Linked DNA regions of Homo sapiens: region 2 is linked to region 1. The links are contacts of gene promoters, found by promoter capture Hi-C in blood cells and fetal thymus (Javierre and others, 2016). All regions are on one chromosome and are shown on one strand. The core of a region is centred on a gene start or on the middle of the fragment in contact, and the rest is flanking DNA. Distances in the headings are between cores, read along the strand shown.

Region 1 (7,426 bases), core at 4,927-7,426:
TGCCGTTCTGCTGGTCTCTGGGCCTTCACCCCTGTGCCCGGCCTTCCCTCCACCTTCCCCACTTCCCCTCCTCCCGGCCCGCCCCCCGCACCCCAGGGCTTACGGTTTCGCTTCGCAGTGGAAAGTCTGAGGGGGTTGATTCCCAGCAGCAGCACCCTCCACCTCTCCACCTCTGTGGTGGCGCTCCCCTTGTTTACTTCCTCAGTCCTGGGTCTCCCCACCTCCCCCTCCTCGCCCCTGCCCCACCCTCCAGACTGCTCCCTCTCCCAGGGACCTTCTGCCTCCACGAACCATTTCTGCCTGGAACTGCCCCCTTGCCCATCTCTAAGCTGCCTCCTCAGTCCCAATATTCACACCTCCTTCTTGGCAAGCTCTTTCCTTGTTGCTCAATCTCCTTCCTCGTTCCCTTAACCTCCCAGAACTTCGTGACCCCTTTAGACCTGCCTTTCCACCCATCAGTACAATGTCCCTGGGAACATGGTGGACAGGAAGCCTTACTGCACCCCAAAAAATGGTAGGTCTGAGGCTAGGCATGCCAGCTTTGTGGGGCATGGAGAATAACTACATTGTATTGAGGCTTCATTACGTGCTAAGCACTGTATTGGACACTTTACTTATAGTAATTCATGAAATCTAATGCTTTTCCCCATTGTACAGATGAGGAAACTGAGCTTCAAAGAAATTGTACAATTTGCCAAGGTTAGGGAGCGTGAAGATAAAAGCTGTGAGTGTACCTGTGTGCGTGACAGTGTGTAGTCCTGACCTTGGATGAGTTACGGGCGTCTCCTGGGAGAAATGATGCTGTTGATGAGTCAACACCCCTCCCCACTCCAACTCAGGTCCCCATGCCCTCAGAAGCATCCTCCAGTCCAGAGGTTCCGAACTAAGAGGAGAAGGCAAGGGCCATGCGGAGATGGAGAAATGCAGAAATCTTAGAAATCTCCTAACAGAGATCAAACTCAGGGGAAACAGAGGCAGTGGGACTAGGGAAGGCCCAAGACTGACAAGAGTCATACAACTCCCGCTCCCCAGCCCAGCCCAGGGAGAGTTGGAGGGCAGGTGACGAAACATACAGCCGACCTGGGGATGACACGAGACCCAGGATTTCCCTGCTTGACTGGAAGGAGCTCGCTTCCATGCCAGGCAGAGGGCATCTCTGATGCCAGGCAGCTCACTCCAGATCCTAGCAGGCTGAGACCCAGGACTACCAGCCCTCTCCCAGCTCAGGGGAAGGACTTCCTGTTTCTGGGCTGTTTCTCTGTGCCTGGTTCAGCACAATAGAGCTGGTAGCTTTCCACTGGGCTCAGCAGTGTCTAGGTCTTGTGTGGGTTAGCAGGGAAGTGTGTATTGCTGGGGAGGAGCATCCCTGAGAATCCAAAACAGGACATAAGTCAGCTCTCAGAAGAGCTGGGCTCCAGGCCACCCCTGGAGGGCTGATCTTGTCTTCTTGAGTCGTGGGTGGTAGGAGTGTGCTGCTGCTTTTGTATCAAAGGGAAGGGTCCTGGCAGAATGGGAGGTCAGCCACCCTCCTCCCTCTCTACCCTTTTGTCGCACTGACTGGAGCCCCCGGGAAAGCAGGAGACAGGTTAAAAACAGAAGCGCGACCATTTCTTTATTAAATTATACAAAAAGGGAGGGGAGGGGGGCAGCTGTGGGGCTCGGCCCCAACCCCGGCCCCACCCCGGCCTGGCGCTGTCTGAGAAGAGGGGATCTGAGGGAGATCCAGGGATCAGGCAGGATAGGGATGGGGCAGGACATGAGGCTGGGGGATGCAGAGGTTAGGTGGGAGAGGCTACCGGAGGAAGAATGAGGCTGGTAGGGGAGGGAGAAAGAGAGCAAAGAGAGAGAGGAGCAATTGGGGGCCAGCTGGAGAGCTCAGATGGAGCAGGTCAGGAGGTGGAACAATGGCAGAGTGAGGGTGGAGGGCGCAGTGTCTGGAGAGGCGGAAATGAGAAGGCTGGGGAGAAAGAAGAGGGTGGCAGCTCTGGTGCAGGGCCCAGAGCAGGGAGCCAGGTGAAGAGTGGCTGGACTTGGCTGCCCCCACCCCCACCTCCAGGCCCAGAGAGGCCTCCCAACCCCAGCCTGTTGGCAGGGGCTCACGCCGATGCCCCATTTTCTGTCTTCTGCCGTTTGGGATCCGCTTCATCCTGTGGAGAGGGAGAGAATGGGGGAGCTGTAAAATGGGAGGGGAGACCTCCCCCTGTCCCGGTCCTGTTCCAGCCCCCACCCCTGCCACACAGGGATCTGGGTCCAAATCCAAAGGGCGCCCAGCCCGGCTGCATCCCTGACAGCCCCTCAGGCCCAGCAACCCAGCCCAAACCTCCTCTTCGGCAGCTCTCTTCAGCGCGGGCCCTTCATCATCCTCTTCTTCTTCTTCCTCATCTGAGGAGCCAGAAATGGGTCATTGGGGAAGGGCAGGAAGCTCTGGCAGAGCCCCCGTGGTCGCCCTCAGCCCTGCTTCAGGTCTTCAAACCCACCCTGACTCTGCTCTCCTTTGAGCCCAGACTTTGCCAGCCCAGCCTCCCCTGCCCCTCCCCACCTTCTTCTTCCCCTTCATCTTCCTCCTCTCCATCCTCGGCAGTTTCTTCTTCTTCCTCCTCAGCCCCGTTCTCCTCCTCCTGTGGGGACCAGGAGAGGGAGTAGCCTCAGGCTGGCTGCATGCCTTGCCCACCATCACCACCAATGGGACTGGAGCCTGGGTGATAAAAGGGCTTGGGATGGGCCACAGGGTGGGGCAGCAAGGGTGACAGGGCTCAGGGGAACGGCAGGACCCAGCACCCTCGGAAGGAAAGCAGAGGAAGGATGAGATGATTGGGAGGGAAGATGGTAGGGCAGATGTGGTCCTCTCCCCCACCCCTCCACACCTCCACCACTTCTTTCTTTCGCTCTTTCCGGCTTGCCTTCTCCTCCACCTTCTCCTTCTTCTCCTTCAGGTCCTGCAAAGGAGAAAGAGGTCACCTTTCTCACCACAAATGGCTTGCAGCCCCTAAGTCCCTGCAGCCCCAGTTCTCCCTCTGTAGTGAGCTTAGAGGTGTGTGAACTGAATAAGGTGGCCACAGCTTAGAGACAGAATAGGGGCCCTAGGGTCCTTACATTAGGGCCATGAAGGGGTTGAGACCAAACACCTCCTTCCCCAAGACCCAAGGTGAGGTGGGAAAGGGATGAAGAAGCAGGAGCGGGCAACCAGGGTAATGATCCCCACCCCCATCAAGTTCTCCCAAACCTCACTGGCTGAAGAGTTCAGCTCAGCAAAGCAAATCCTCTCCATCTGCTTGCAGCCTCAGTGCCCCGCCCCCTCCTGTGTCCCTCCGCCTCCCTTGCCTGCCCCGCCACTGCCCGCCCAGCTCTGCCTTTTGTCTACCTCTGGGGCCTTTTCCTGAGGACTCTCTCTCCTGGGCATCCCTCCCAGCTTCCCCTTCAGCTTCTAAGGTCTTTGTTTCTCTCCATCTGTGTCTCCCTAATCCTCAGGCCCCTACTTGGCCAAACACTACACCTTAGCACATTCCCAGCACCCCTCCCACTTTCTGCCCTCCCCGCCCCAAAACAGTTCAAGTAGTTTCCTCTATCCCTGCCTCCCATGGTGTATGCATGGGTGTAGTGGAAGTAGCCATTTACGGTGGAAATGTAGGTGAAGTAGAAGAGAAAACAAGGAGGGGAAGAGTAGCAGGCGTGGGAAACAAGGAGAGAGCAACAAACAAGGTCTGTGACTGGGGTGGGATAGGAATGGAGAAGAGGGAGGGACCAGTCTAGGAGACCCTCCCACCAGCCAGCCCCTCTCCTTCACCCCAAGATCCTAGCAGGCATAGGTTGACGTCCTGTGCTGATATGGCACATCTGAGTCCCTTCTGGACACTACACTAGCCTCCCAATTCAGATTCCAGTGCTCTCCCCACCCACTCCTTGGCAGGCACAGTGTAACACGGTAGGTGTCCTTGTGTGATCTGATCTGGTGTTGGTGTGCCACGCTGTGTATCTGATTCCATGTGAATGGAAGTCTCCTGTGTGAGATCACCCTGGGCGGGGGGGTCCTTTCTGGAACAGGATAGGGGATAGGAGAGGAGCCTGGTGCAGAACGGCTGCCCTGGGGGGCACTCAATTCCCTTCTCCCTTTAAGGGTAGCTCAGAACTCTTCACTCTCACTCCAGAGAGGGTGCCCTTCCACCCCACCGTGAGGTCTTCATTTCTGTGCCACAAGGTCAGTATGGCATTTCCACTACCTAGGGGGCTCTTCCCTACGTCCTGGGCCAGGAGAGCAAAGAGCTGGTCAGCTTCTCTCTGGGGGCCCCAGCACCAAAAGTCTGTATGGCCCTGGCCTGACTTTCCCATCTGGGCTGATGCAGGGAGGGAGAATACCAGAGACCAAAGTTCAAGGGGCCGGGCCCTCTCCTCCCCTGTTCTGTCCTTCTGGTCACTGTCCTTCCATGATCCCTTTTCCAGGAGAATATGTGACCTGGGCCCTAGGTCTTCTGCTAAGCAGCCCTCTGGCCTCATTTACTCAACACAGGCACACACACCGACACCGGCCGACAGCCATGCACAGACACAGTTAGAGAGGAGCACCCACGCGATGGGAGACACATGGCCCAGCGTTGGGCCATTCTGGTCCACACTCTTGAGACAGCACGGGAGCACAGCGGAGCCACTCAGCACTCACAAAGCGACAACATGGCTCCAGAACATCTACGTCTCCACATGCACACATGTAACTGACACGGGCAGTCCCACACACTCGCTGGATTTCAGACATACAAAGACACCTACTCAGTGAAGTCACATGCCACCGCACAGCCCGCCGGAGGGCCACACGGGCGCACCTTGGCAGATCGCACACAGCCCCTCTCCCACCGCCGTTAATCCCATTGGCTCCCCCCGTTTCACTCCGCGGGCCTCCGGGAGACCTGTGTGACGGCCCCTCAGCAACCACCGCGCCCCCCCCCCCCGCCATACACATACACACACAAGATAGGGCTCCCAGCCCCCAAACCCCGGCCGCGTTAATTTCCCAAAGCGACACTCCGCAGGTTCCCTGGGGAAATTAGAGGAAGGCTGGAAGAGAGGCAAGGGCGAACGGATGGGGCCGGGGAAGGGAGCTGATGAGGGCGAGGACAGCTCGACGCAATGCCATGCAATGCCCAGCCTCGGCTTTTTCGAAGGCTAGTCCTGCCCCGCTTCTAATTTTTAGGAATTCGAGATTCTTTCAGTGTGTATGCGGGAAGGGGACGATGAAGAGAAAAGAAAGCTGAAAGCCAGCTGAGGGGAGGGAACGAGAAAACAGAGGCGGCCGCCGTCCGGGGAGAGAAGCGAGCGACGGTCGGGCCGCGGGGAGGGGCCCGGAGGAGCAGCCTCCAGGGAGAGTCCTGTTTACACTTGAGGATCTCAAACCGCTTAGCGAGGAAAGGTGAGGTCAGGTTGCAAGCAAAGACGCGGCAGCGGGGCGCAGGGAGGGGGCGCGGCAAAGTGAGACTCGGGGCGTTCGGACGGGAAGCCGGACGGGATCCGGTCAGCGAGGTGGGGCCGAAGAGGGGTGGGGACGGCTGCGGGGGACGGCGCGACCGGAGCGGCGAGGCCGGGCGCCGTGGTGCGCGCAGGGCAGCTAGAGGGCGCTGGCGCTAGCCGCGCGGAGCCGGGAAAGGAGCTCCGGGCCGGGGAGCGGTGGGAGGGCGCAGTGGGGTCCGCCAGGACCCGGGCGCAAGGGCCGCGCGGGGCCGTCGGGGGCGGCCTGGGGCGAAGGACCGCGCCGGGCCCCAGGGCTGCGCGAGGTCCGGGCCGCCGCCGCCCCCGCCCGTACCTTGGCGCTCAACTCGGCCGCTGCCTCCACGCTTTTCTCCGACATGGTGCCGGGGCCGGGGCCGGGGCTGGCGGGGAGCCGGGGTCCCGGGGCCGAGACGGAGGGGCCCTGGACGGCGGAGGGTGGCCGCGGCCGGAACCTGGCGCGGTGGCGGCGGCGGCGGCGACAGCGGCAGCGGCGGCCGCTCGGCAAGCTGGGTCTCTGGAAGAGGCGGCAGAGGCGCGCGGGGTGGGGCGGGGGTGGGTCTGGAGCGGAGACCCGCAGGGCTGCGGCCGTCCGGAGGGCGGGCGGAAGGGCGGTGCAGGCGGTGGCCGGCGCGCTCGGCCGCGGTAGCTCGATCCCGGGCTCGCCGCCCCCGCACCAGCAGAGCTGCCGCCGACCAGCCGCTGCCGCCCCCGGGAAGGGAACCCGCTTATAAGGCGGCGCTGCCCGACGGGAGGGGCTTCCCAGGGGTGGGGCAGGCGGGAGCGGGGAGGAGAGGAGAGGGGAGGGGGATGAAAGAGGAGGTTGGAGAGGTGGGGATAGGAGGATGAAAGCGAGGGGAGGGAGAGCTAGGGAGTCGGGAGGGAGGACGAGACCAGGAGGGGGAAATGGAGAGACTGACGGCCGCGGAGAAAGAGTGGGGCGAGGAGGTGGGAAGGGGTGGGGTTCCTGCGGGGAGGCACCTTTCCAAATCCCAACCTACTGCCTGCGAATGTGGAGTCTGGCTTTTGGGGGCGGACTGGAGAGGTGGCCAGAATCCTACTGACCCCAAAAAAAGCCCTGGGATTTTGCCAAGGGGTGGGGTGAGGGGAGCAGATGGGAAGATAGGGCAGGTATTTGAGAAACCAAAAGCTTAAAGAAGAGGAAGAGGGTTCGGGCGCTCCTTCCACACCACGCCGGATTTCCCCCTCTCATCCTCCATCCACATTCTCTGGATGGCCTTGAGGAGGGATGGGAGGGCAGAAAGGGCGGCCCAGCCTTCTGTCCCGCCAGATTGACACTTGTGACCCTTGCCGGGTGCCTCCCTTCCTGGCCCCGTGCTGTGAGCCGGGGGGAGTCAGGCCCCCTGGTCTCCTTTGCTGTCTTCCAGCTCTCTTCCATCTTCTACCTCTCTTATTCGCCCGTCTCACCTCACTTTTATTCGCCTGGTCCTTCTATTTCTCTTCATCCGTCCTCAGTCATCTGTACCTAGACCCCTCCTTCACAACCAATTATAACTCGAATCGCTCCCATTCTTCTCTCACCTCTTCTCCACTCCTCACTGACTCTCTTCTGCCCTTCCACCTCTGGTCTCTTTCCCTATCTTTCCCAGACAACCCTGCTCTTGTCTTATCTGAGTCAGGCACCTGGCCCTCTATTCTTGGCTGGCTTTCCTCAACTCCTCTTTCTGTCCTCATTTTTTACATTTTCCATCCTTCAGCTTTTCTCATTCCTCTGCTGCCATCTTCCCTAGCCTTTCTGGGTTATATTTGCCTCCTTTGCAAATATAATACAGGTCCAGGTCTGGAGTTCCAGCCCCACCCTATTCCACACATCCTCAGCTCCTCGCCCTCAATCTCGGTATCTTTGAGTCATTTTGAAAAGCTTGGGATTTCAGAAGGGAACAGGGGCTGGGTTGTGTATTAAAGGTCAGGAAGGTGGACAGAGTGGAAGGCT
Region 2 (7,201 bases), core at 1,660-4,159, 75 kb before region 1:
CCCGTGTGTCCCACAAATACAGTCTTCTGCTGCCCAGTCTCAATGTCCCACAAGGCACTGCCAAAATGGAGGGAGACTGTTAGAGAAAGGCCGGGCCCACTCCCAAGCCCCAGCACCAGCAATGTTCAGCCTCACCACGTGGTGTCCCCCGAGCTGGTCACAATATTGTTGTCATCCAGGAAGCGGCAGCAGGAGAGATAACCTGGAGGCGGTTAGAAGGACAGTGCCCTGGCTGCAGAGCCACAGCCCACTGGAAGCCCAGGGTTCCCTGAACCCCTCAGGAGGGGAGGAGAGGGTCTCTCCCTCACCTGTGTGAGCAGAAAGCTCCCGGCTGACCTTGACATTGCCCTCACGGGATTTGAGGTTGTAGATGGAACACATGTTGTCCAGCCCCCCACATGCCACAAAGTTCCCTGATGGGGCATAGGCACAGGTCATGACCCAGGAGGAGCGCAGTGGGATGGCGTGCACCTGCAGGGAGGGTGGTTTGAGCAGAGATGGGACCGGAGCCAAGCTCCCAGCTGGGCACAGGAGGGTAGGCATGGCGCCCTTAGGAAGGATGCAGTGGTGGAGGCTCAGGGAGGCAGGGCTGGTACCTTGTTGGTGGTGTAGCTGTCCCACACGATCAGCTTCCCATCTTGCGAGGCACTTACCAGCAGCCTGGGGAGAGGGCATCCCATATCATGCAAGCCTCCCCTTCCCGCCTTCCTCACTCCCGCTCTCACCCTCCCATTCTCGGTTCCCCCCCAAGCCTCACTTAGAATCAGTGGCCCAGTGCATGGCGTAAATCTTGGCCAGGTGTCCCCTTAACGTCCGCCGCGTCCGCATCTGGACTCGTCCCACCACCTCTAGGCCAGACACCAGCTGCAGAGAGAGGGGCACTGAATATCAGGGTGAGCAGGTTACGTGCCCAGATGTCTGTCACTGCCACTGATCTATACAAGTTCCCGCTCTGTGCCAGGCTCTAGGTCAGGCCCCCAGCCTTAGAGAAATAAGTCTCTGCCCTGGAGTGTCTTAGACTGATGTGGGAAAGAGATGCATGCATGGCCAGAGGTGTGTTGCTTGTAAGTGTTTAACAAGCACCTCTCCAGTGTTGGTGAGGAAGGTGGGAAGGTGATTTCCACGATACGAATACTTGCACTTTGACCAGTTTCCAGCTGCCAATGTGAGGTCATTGGAAACAGATTTGGGAAGAGATGCACAGAGCTGGCTCTCCCAAGCCGAGAGGAGCCTGCTTGCACCCACCGCTGCAGCACGGCTAGCTTTTTAACTGGGTGCCTGGGGCATCACCATGACCCTGAACTGTACCTCCTGAAATCTGTGGTACTATGCCCCTTGAGCTCTAACCACATTTTAGACTTAGGCTGGGGGTCCAGAGTGAACAGACTTGATTTGCCATCACTTGCATTGCTATCTTTTTTTAAAAAGTTAAAAGCAATTTTTTTTATATTAAGAAGAGATCTCACTATGTTGCCCAGGCTGGTCTCAAACTCCTGAGCTCAAGTGATCCTTTCACGTCAGTCTCCCAAAGGGCTGGGATTACAGGCGTGAACCACTGCGCCCGGCCTGCTTTGTTATCTTGGGCAAGTTGCTTCACCTCCCTGAGTCTGTTTACTCAAGGTGTAAAATGAGGCTTATCATAGCACCTACCTTACAGAGATATCATGAAAATTCAATGAAATCAGGTATTTATGCAGCTTAGCCCAGTATCTGGCTCATAAAAAGTGTTCACTATTAACATATTTAATCCAATCTAAGATGCATCACTAAGAAAGAAAAGATGCTGTCAATTCTAATTGAAACAATGATCCATTGCTGAATGCACCTTGATTTCAGAGATGTCAAAATGTGAAGAAATGTGCATCTTAGAATTGACAAAATACAGCATAGAAAACTAGCAGCTAGAGTCTACAAGGGCTTTATAATTTACAAAGTACTATCGCTTCTTCATCTTCAAGGCCCTGGGAGGGGGCTGTGGTCACTCTTGTTCTACGGATGAGAATAGGAACCGTGTCCGCATCTTTCGCATCCAATATGGTGCCTGGCTCAGAGCAGGTCCCGCTAAAATGTTGGTCGAATGAATTAATTAATGGGTTTCCTCACTCCAAGGACGTGCTGTACTAATGCTCGGAGCAACGCGCTATTGCGGGTCGGGGAGCTCCCTTCCCCTCCCCCCATGCCCTGCCTTCCGGGGGACAGGGGGTCTTACCTCTGCCAGAGTAACGTCAGCACAGGCTTTCCTGGCATCCTGCAGGGAAAGCAGACATCAGGGGAGCAAGGGCGAGGTGGGGGTGGCAGGTGCATGGGCCTTCAGGGCAGGTTGGTCTTGGGGCTCTGGGGCTTGGGGGTCTCAAATATGCGAACCAAGTTTAGAAAGTCCCTGGTCACTTCTAGTCACTCAAGAGCAAACCCAGCCCCCTCCCCCTGGGCCACGCTCCTCATGTCCCCAGCTGTTTTCTGGGGCCCCAGGGGTAGGGCTCTGGAGTTACTGCAATCTGCTTCTTGAGCTGCTCCGCTTCCTGACGCAGTTGCTCCATCTCCCCCATGGCTGACAGGTCGAGGGGTCACTCTGGCTCCTGCCAGGAACATGGGGTCGGTGTTGAGGAACCCCCCACCAGGCTGTGCTTCTGCCCTTCGTGCCCACACCAGACTCCAAGACACAGGGAAACGACTGGGTGGCTGCACCCTCTCCCCAGCTAGGCCCTCCAAGTTTGAGGTCCTTTGCGTCCAGCCCCAGCCTGCCTGAGCCCTGCCTGCGCCCCAGCCCAGGAGAGCAGAGCCCAGGCCAGCTCCCTCTTACTTGGGCTCTGGCTGGACCTCGGCCGGGTTTCCAGCTCCGGTTCCTGGGAGCCTCCTTACTCCCTCAGCTGCGACGCCCGCGCCCGCCCGTCACCTGCCCAGGCTCTGCTGCCAGAGGAGCTGGCCTGGCCTGGCCTGGCCCCGACCGGCGGGGGGTTGGGGGGGCCTGACAGGGAAGGGTAGAGCCAACCACAACGTCAGGCAAATGAAATCAGCTGGCAGGGGTGGGGGGAAGGGGTGGGGGGAGGGAGGGAGGTGTACGGATTCCAGAGAGACTTGGGCCCAGCCGGGAGGAGGGTTGGGGGCAGGAGTGTGGGGCCATAGAGAGGGGCAGCCCCCACCACAAGCCCTGAGAGAGGAGGGGGTGAAGGGGTGCTTCCCTGGTCAGTCTCTGCAGGCAGAGATAAGAGCATCAGGCCCCACAGGATTAGAGCAAAGCTGTGAGGATTAAGGGTTGGGGTTTGGGAGGGGTGCAAAGGAGCAGACAACTACAGCTCCAGTGGCCCCCCTGGTCCCGGCCCCCATCCATGGTGATGATCTTGGCAGTCAGGGCCACTTAGCAACCAGGCCAGGAGGTGGGATATAAGGGTGATAGATGGCCCCATTGTCAGTACCTCAAACTGTGCTCCTCAGCTCAGGGTGGTGGGGAAGAGGGTTTGGTGAGTATGGGAGGGTACAGGCAGGAGCTGAGATTAGAAAGGACTGATCTGGATAATCCTTCTTCTCGACAAACCCCAACCAGCTGCCTCTGGGTCTGATCCTGTTGGGGGAGAAAGGTACAGGGGACCCACAGAGAAGGATGGACAGGTCTGCCCCTATTGTGGGCGGGCAACGGATTTCAAGTGGAGGGAAGGCCCGCACGCTGCTCCCAGGCTGGGGTCTGGCCCCCTCCTTGCCCTCTCGAGGCTGTGAAAGCAGGGGTCAGAGAGAAAGCAGGCGGCCCTAAGTCTCAGCAAAGCTCAGAGAGGGAAGACAGGGCTTACACTTGGAGGCCTAAGGAGCAGCTGCCAGGGGCTTGGGTCATTTGCATGAGGGGAGCAGGTGGCTGAGATTTCCCTGACAAATCACAGGCTCCAGGCGCCCCGCCTCTGGGAGGCCCAAAGACACCTGTCTCCTCCCAGGCCAGCCAGAGCCACCCCCACCTCCAGCCATCACAGAATCTGTGATACACTTGACTGGCCCCTGGCTGAGAGATCTTCACGACCTTTATTGCACAGACTGGGAGAGAGGAGCAGGGTTATACCTCCCAACCCCACCATCCTCTTCATTTAAAGCATCAGCCTCCTCCCCTGCCATTTCTGTTCAGGGAGGCACAGTGTTCCCCATCTGTCCAGGGCTGCAGGTCCGGCAGCGGGGCCCCGTCCCAGCTCCCCAGGCCTGGTGAGCTCCAGGCTAGCCTGTGCACTGTCCTCTGAGTCCAGGCCCTTGTAGGTCCCCAAGATGGTGGGGGTGCAGGGACAGAGAGCTTGCTGTTCTGCTCCTGATGTCACACAGGGGCTTCCTGTGTGTCCTGGCATCAAGATGGCCTTCCACAAGTCAAGTGGCCACATCCTCAAGGAGCTGGCTCAGCCACTCACAGCTCCTCCCGAACCCGAGGTGCCCTTCCAGTCTTGTCTTGGACCCTCTGGTGCCTGCGGCTAGGGGGCTCTGGGGAAGGGTCTTTGCTGGGCATTTCTTCCTCTTCCTCTTCCTCCTCCTCCTGTGACTCCTGCAGCAGTTCTTTGGCTTCTATCCACTCCTGGGGTTGGGGAGGAGAGTGTGGCCCATTCCCTGCACCCACCTTCCCTGGGTCAGCTCAGCCCCTGACCCTCACCGACTGTGAGCCTTCTCGGGGGCTCCTTGCCCACCCTTCACGCACCAGGAGAACCACATCCCTTCCTACCCCGCTCCTTACCTGCTCCCTGTGCTCAGGTGCCCACGTGTGCCACAGTGCCAGGGCACAGCGCCGTCCCCGAGTCACGGCCCACACCCCATGGGGATTCTCGACACCGGAGCTGAAGGCCACAAGGCGCCCACAGCGAGGACGCACCCGAGCCTGGAGGGATGAGGGCAGGTTCAGCTCCAGGGATTGGCTCTCTCAGAGAACTTGGCCCTCACTCCCTAGAGCAGGATGGGGACAGGGGCACAGAGAGGATCAGCTCTCTCGCTACCACTTCCTACTCCTTAATTCAGGGACTAGCTTGGGGCAAATGAGAAATCAGCTTCAACTTGCAGAGCAAAAATGCAAGAGGAGTTGGGAACCAAAGGAAAAAGGGGTCTCCACGGATGGTCTCCTGTTGGTTCCTGACCCCTGGTACCCTGATTTTTCCCACTCAGCCCTTTGAATCCAGGGCTTGAAGCAATCTGGGGCTGTGCATGCAGTACCAGACTCTATGCAGAAGGGGATACAGATATTGGAACCATTTTCACACCCCACACCCAGATGAACAATCACTGCCCCTCTCCTCCTACCCAATCCTAGCCCCTGGTGTCCGGAAATTTCCCACCTAACATTCATTAATTGCTTATCATTACCAGGCGCTGCCTCATTCTTTTAGGTACATTACCTAAATTACTTCCTACAATGACCCTTTAAAATACGTACTATTATTATCACCCCAGTCTAGGAAACTAAACCTCAGAAAGGTTCAGAATCCGAGCCCCAGTCAAGGCGGCCCTGGTATCTGTGCGCCAGCCACTGTGCTCACCTCGCTGCAAAGAGGAAGGACTATTTCAAGTTCCCCAAATCCCTAGAATAGGGCCATGGAGTCCTGGAGGCACCTGCAAGCTGTGCTTCATTCACCCTTCTTTAGGAGGCGAGACAAATACTGATGGTAGGGTTGATTCGGCCACTTAGAGACCTTGCTACGGAGGAAGCAGCGGGAGGGCTGCGGAGGCGGGGAAGTGAAAGGGTTAAAAGCCCTGGCCATTTCCCTGCATTTGCCTCTGGAGCCTTCTGTTTTGAATCCTGACCCCACAGCTGGGCCCTTTGTCACACCGTCACACCCCCCACTCCACGCACCGTGACAGTGAGGGCGTTGGGCTCCGTGAAGAACAGGTCCCCACCCTGGAAGTCATCGTTGAGGTAGAGGAGTCCGCTGGGGAGGGAAAAAAGCAAGAGGCAGTGAGACCCCAACCCAGGCCCAGGCCGGCAGTGGGATGACCTTTGTCTGCCCACCTGCCTGACCACTAGAGGGGCTGCCCACCTGTAGTCCCGATAGGTGTAGGCTGGGGGCTCCCGCCAGCACTCTCCCGTGTCAGGGTCCAGGACGCAGTTGTCTGCGTGCACTGGGTGACTCAGGTCCATGCGCTGCTCTTGCTCTCCTAGGACACAAAGGGGTCTGGGGGTACCTCTGTGCCCCTGTGCCCATCTGCCACCCTGTGGGCTCAGGCCGTGCACGTCCACCCCGGGGCTCTTGGGGGCAGTGTCCTGGGGGCAGGGCCTGAGGTTGGAGAAGAGCAGTGGGGGGTCCCTGTCGTACCTTCTATGGCGCTGCGGCACACCAGGTGGGTGAAGGACAGATGCAGGGGCCGTTCCGGGGAGAAGTAGGCCTGGGTCAAGGTCCGCACCCGCTCGCTCACCTCCAGAAGCAGCTTAGCACCCTGACTGCCCACTGTCCCAGCCCGGGCCAGCTGCAGGCAGTGAAAGGCAGGGCAGAAAAGGAGGAAGGCAAGGGGAGGGTGGTCTCGGCCCTAGCCCCTGCCCAACTCTGCCGCTCTCCACCCATGGGTTTGGAGTCTGTCAGCATCCAGCTCTGTCCATCAGCCCAAACTGCTCCTTCTCTCTCCATGACAACAACCCCGGCCCCAGCTCTCAGAACATCCCTTTTCTCCACGCTGGGTCCTATCAGGTAGTCTCGGTCCCAAGAAAGCTCCTTCACAAAAGCCCAGGCCCTGGGGCCCGGCTTCCTGCACAGCCTCTCCTCCAGGTCTGGGCATCAGACGGGCCCGGGTGCCTCCTGTGCTCACCTGCGCAGCCTTAAGCACCGTGAGCCCCTCGAAGCGTTCATGGGGGGTGTGAGGGGAGCGGCGACCACGATAGCCAGACCTGGCTCCAGCCCCAGCTGCATCCTAAATAGGAAGGAGTTTACCGTGGAGTCACTCCCCCAGCCCCTCACTGTCTGCAGGGCTGCAAGACCCTCCCTCCGGCCCTCCCGCTCTCCAGAAGAAGCTAGATGCTCCCACAGTTCTGTTGTGGCTCGTCTTCCTGAGCTGCTGCTCTTTCCCAGAGAGTGCCCACCGCCACGGCTGTCCGATTGTCCCTCTCTGGTACGGGCTGGAATCCCGCTTACTAAGGGGACTGTGGAGAGAACTCGGGAGAGCTTCCTACAGCAGTAAGGGGGCCTCTGAGAGGGTAGGGACAGCTGGAAAAGTGGGGCAGAGCTGGGAACTAGGCAGGAAGGGCTTGATCATTAATCCCCGA

The links. Contacts are between HindIII fragments. The CHiCAGO score rates a contact against its expected background, and 5 or more counts as called.
Region 2: the fragment with the promoter of GNB3 here is called in contact with the fragment with the promoter of PTMS in region 1 in 7 of 17 cell types (naive CD4 T cells, activated CD4 T cells, total CD4 T cells and 4 more); the score reaches 10.5 in naive CD4 T cells.

The regions. Positions count from the first base shown.
Region 1 is chr12:6,765,113-6,772,538 of GRCh38, reverse strand. It overlaps PTMS (parathymosin), which reads right to left and starts at 6,176. Exons shown (of 5, transcript NM_002824.6): 1 at 5,789-6,176; 2 at 2,865-2,936; 3 at 2,540-2,618; 4 at 2,321-2,382; 5 at 1,587-2,147. The coding sequence starts at 5,833. The coding sequence ends at 2,097. It overlaps LAG3 (lymphocyte activating 3), which reads right to left and starts at 19. Exons shown (of 8, transcript NM_002286.6): 1 at 1-19. RefSeq lists silencers at 5,372-5,871, 5,982-6,311. The HindIII fragment of the contact is 8,838 bases long and covers 1-6,624 here.
Region 2 is chr12:6,836,633-6,843,833 of GRCh38, reverse strand. GNB3 (G protein subunit beta 3) reads right to left here and starts at 2,909. Exons shown (of 10, transcript NM_002075.4): 1 at 2,801-2,909; 2 at 2,490-2,576; 3 at 2,210-2,248; 4 at 758-864; 5 at 597-660; 6 at 309-471; 7 at 136-202; 8 at 1-57. The coding sequence starts at 2,546. P3H3 (prolyl 3-hydroxylase 3) reads right to left here. Exons shown (of 15, transcript NM_014262.5): 10 at 6,748-6,849; 11 at 6,261-6,411; 12 at 5,985-6,102; 13 at 5,801-5,876; 14 at 4,694-4,834; 15 at 3,987-4,537. The coding sequence ends at 4,373. The HindIII fragment of the contact is 12,557 bases long and covers 1-7,201 here.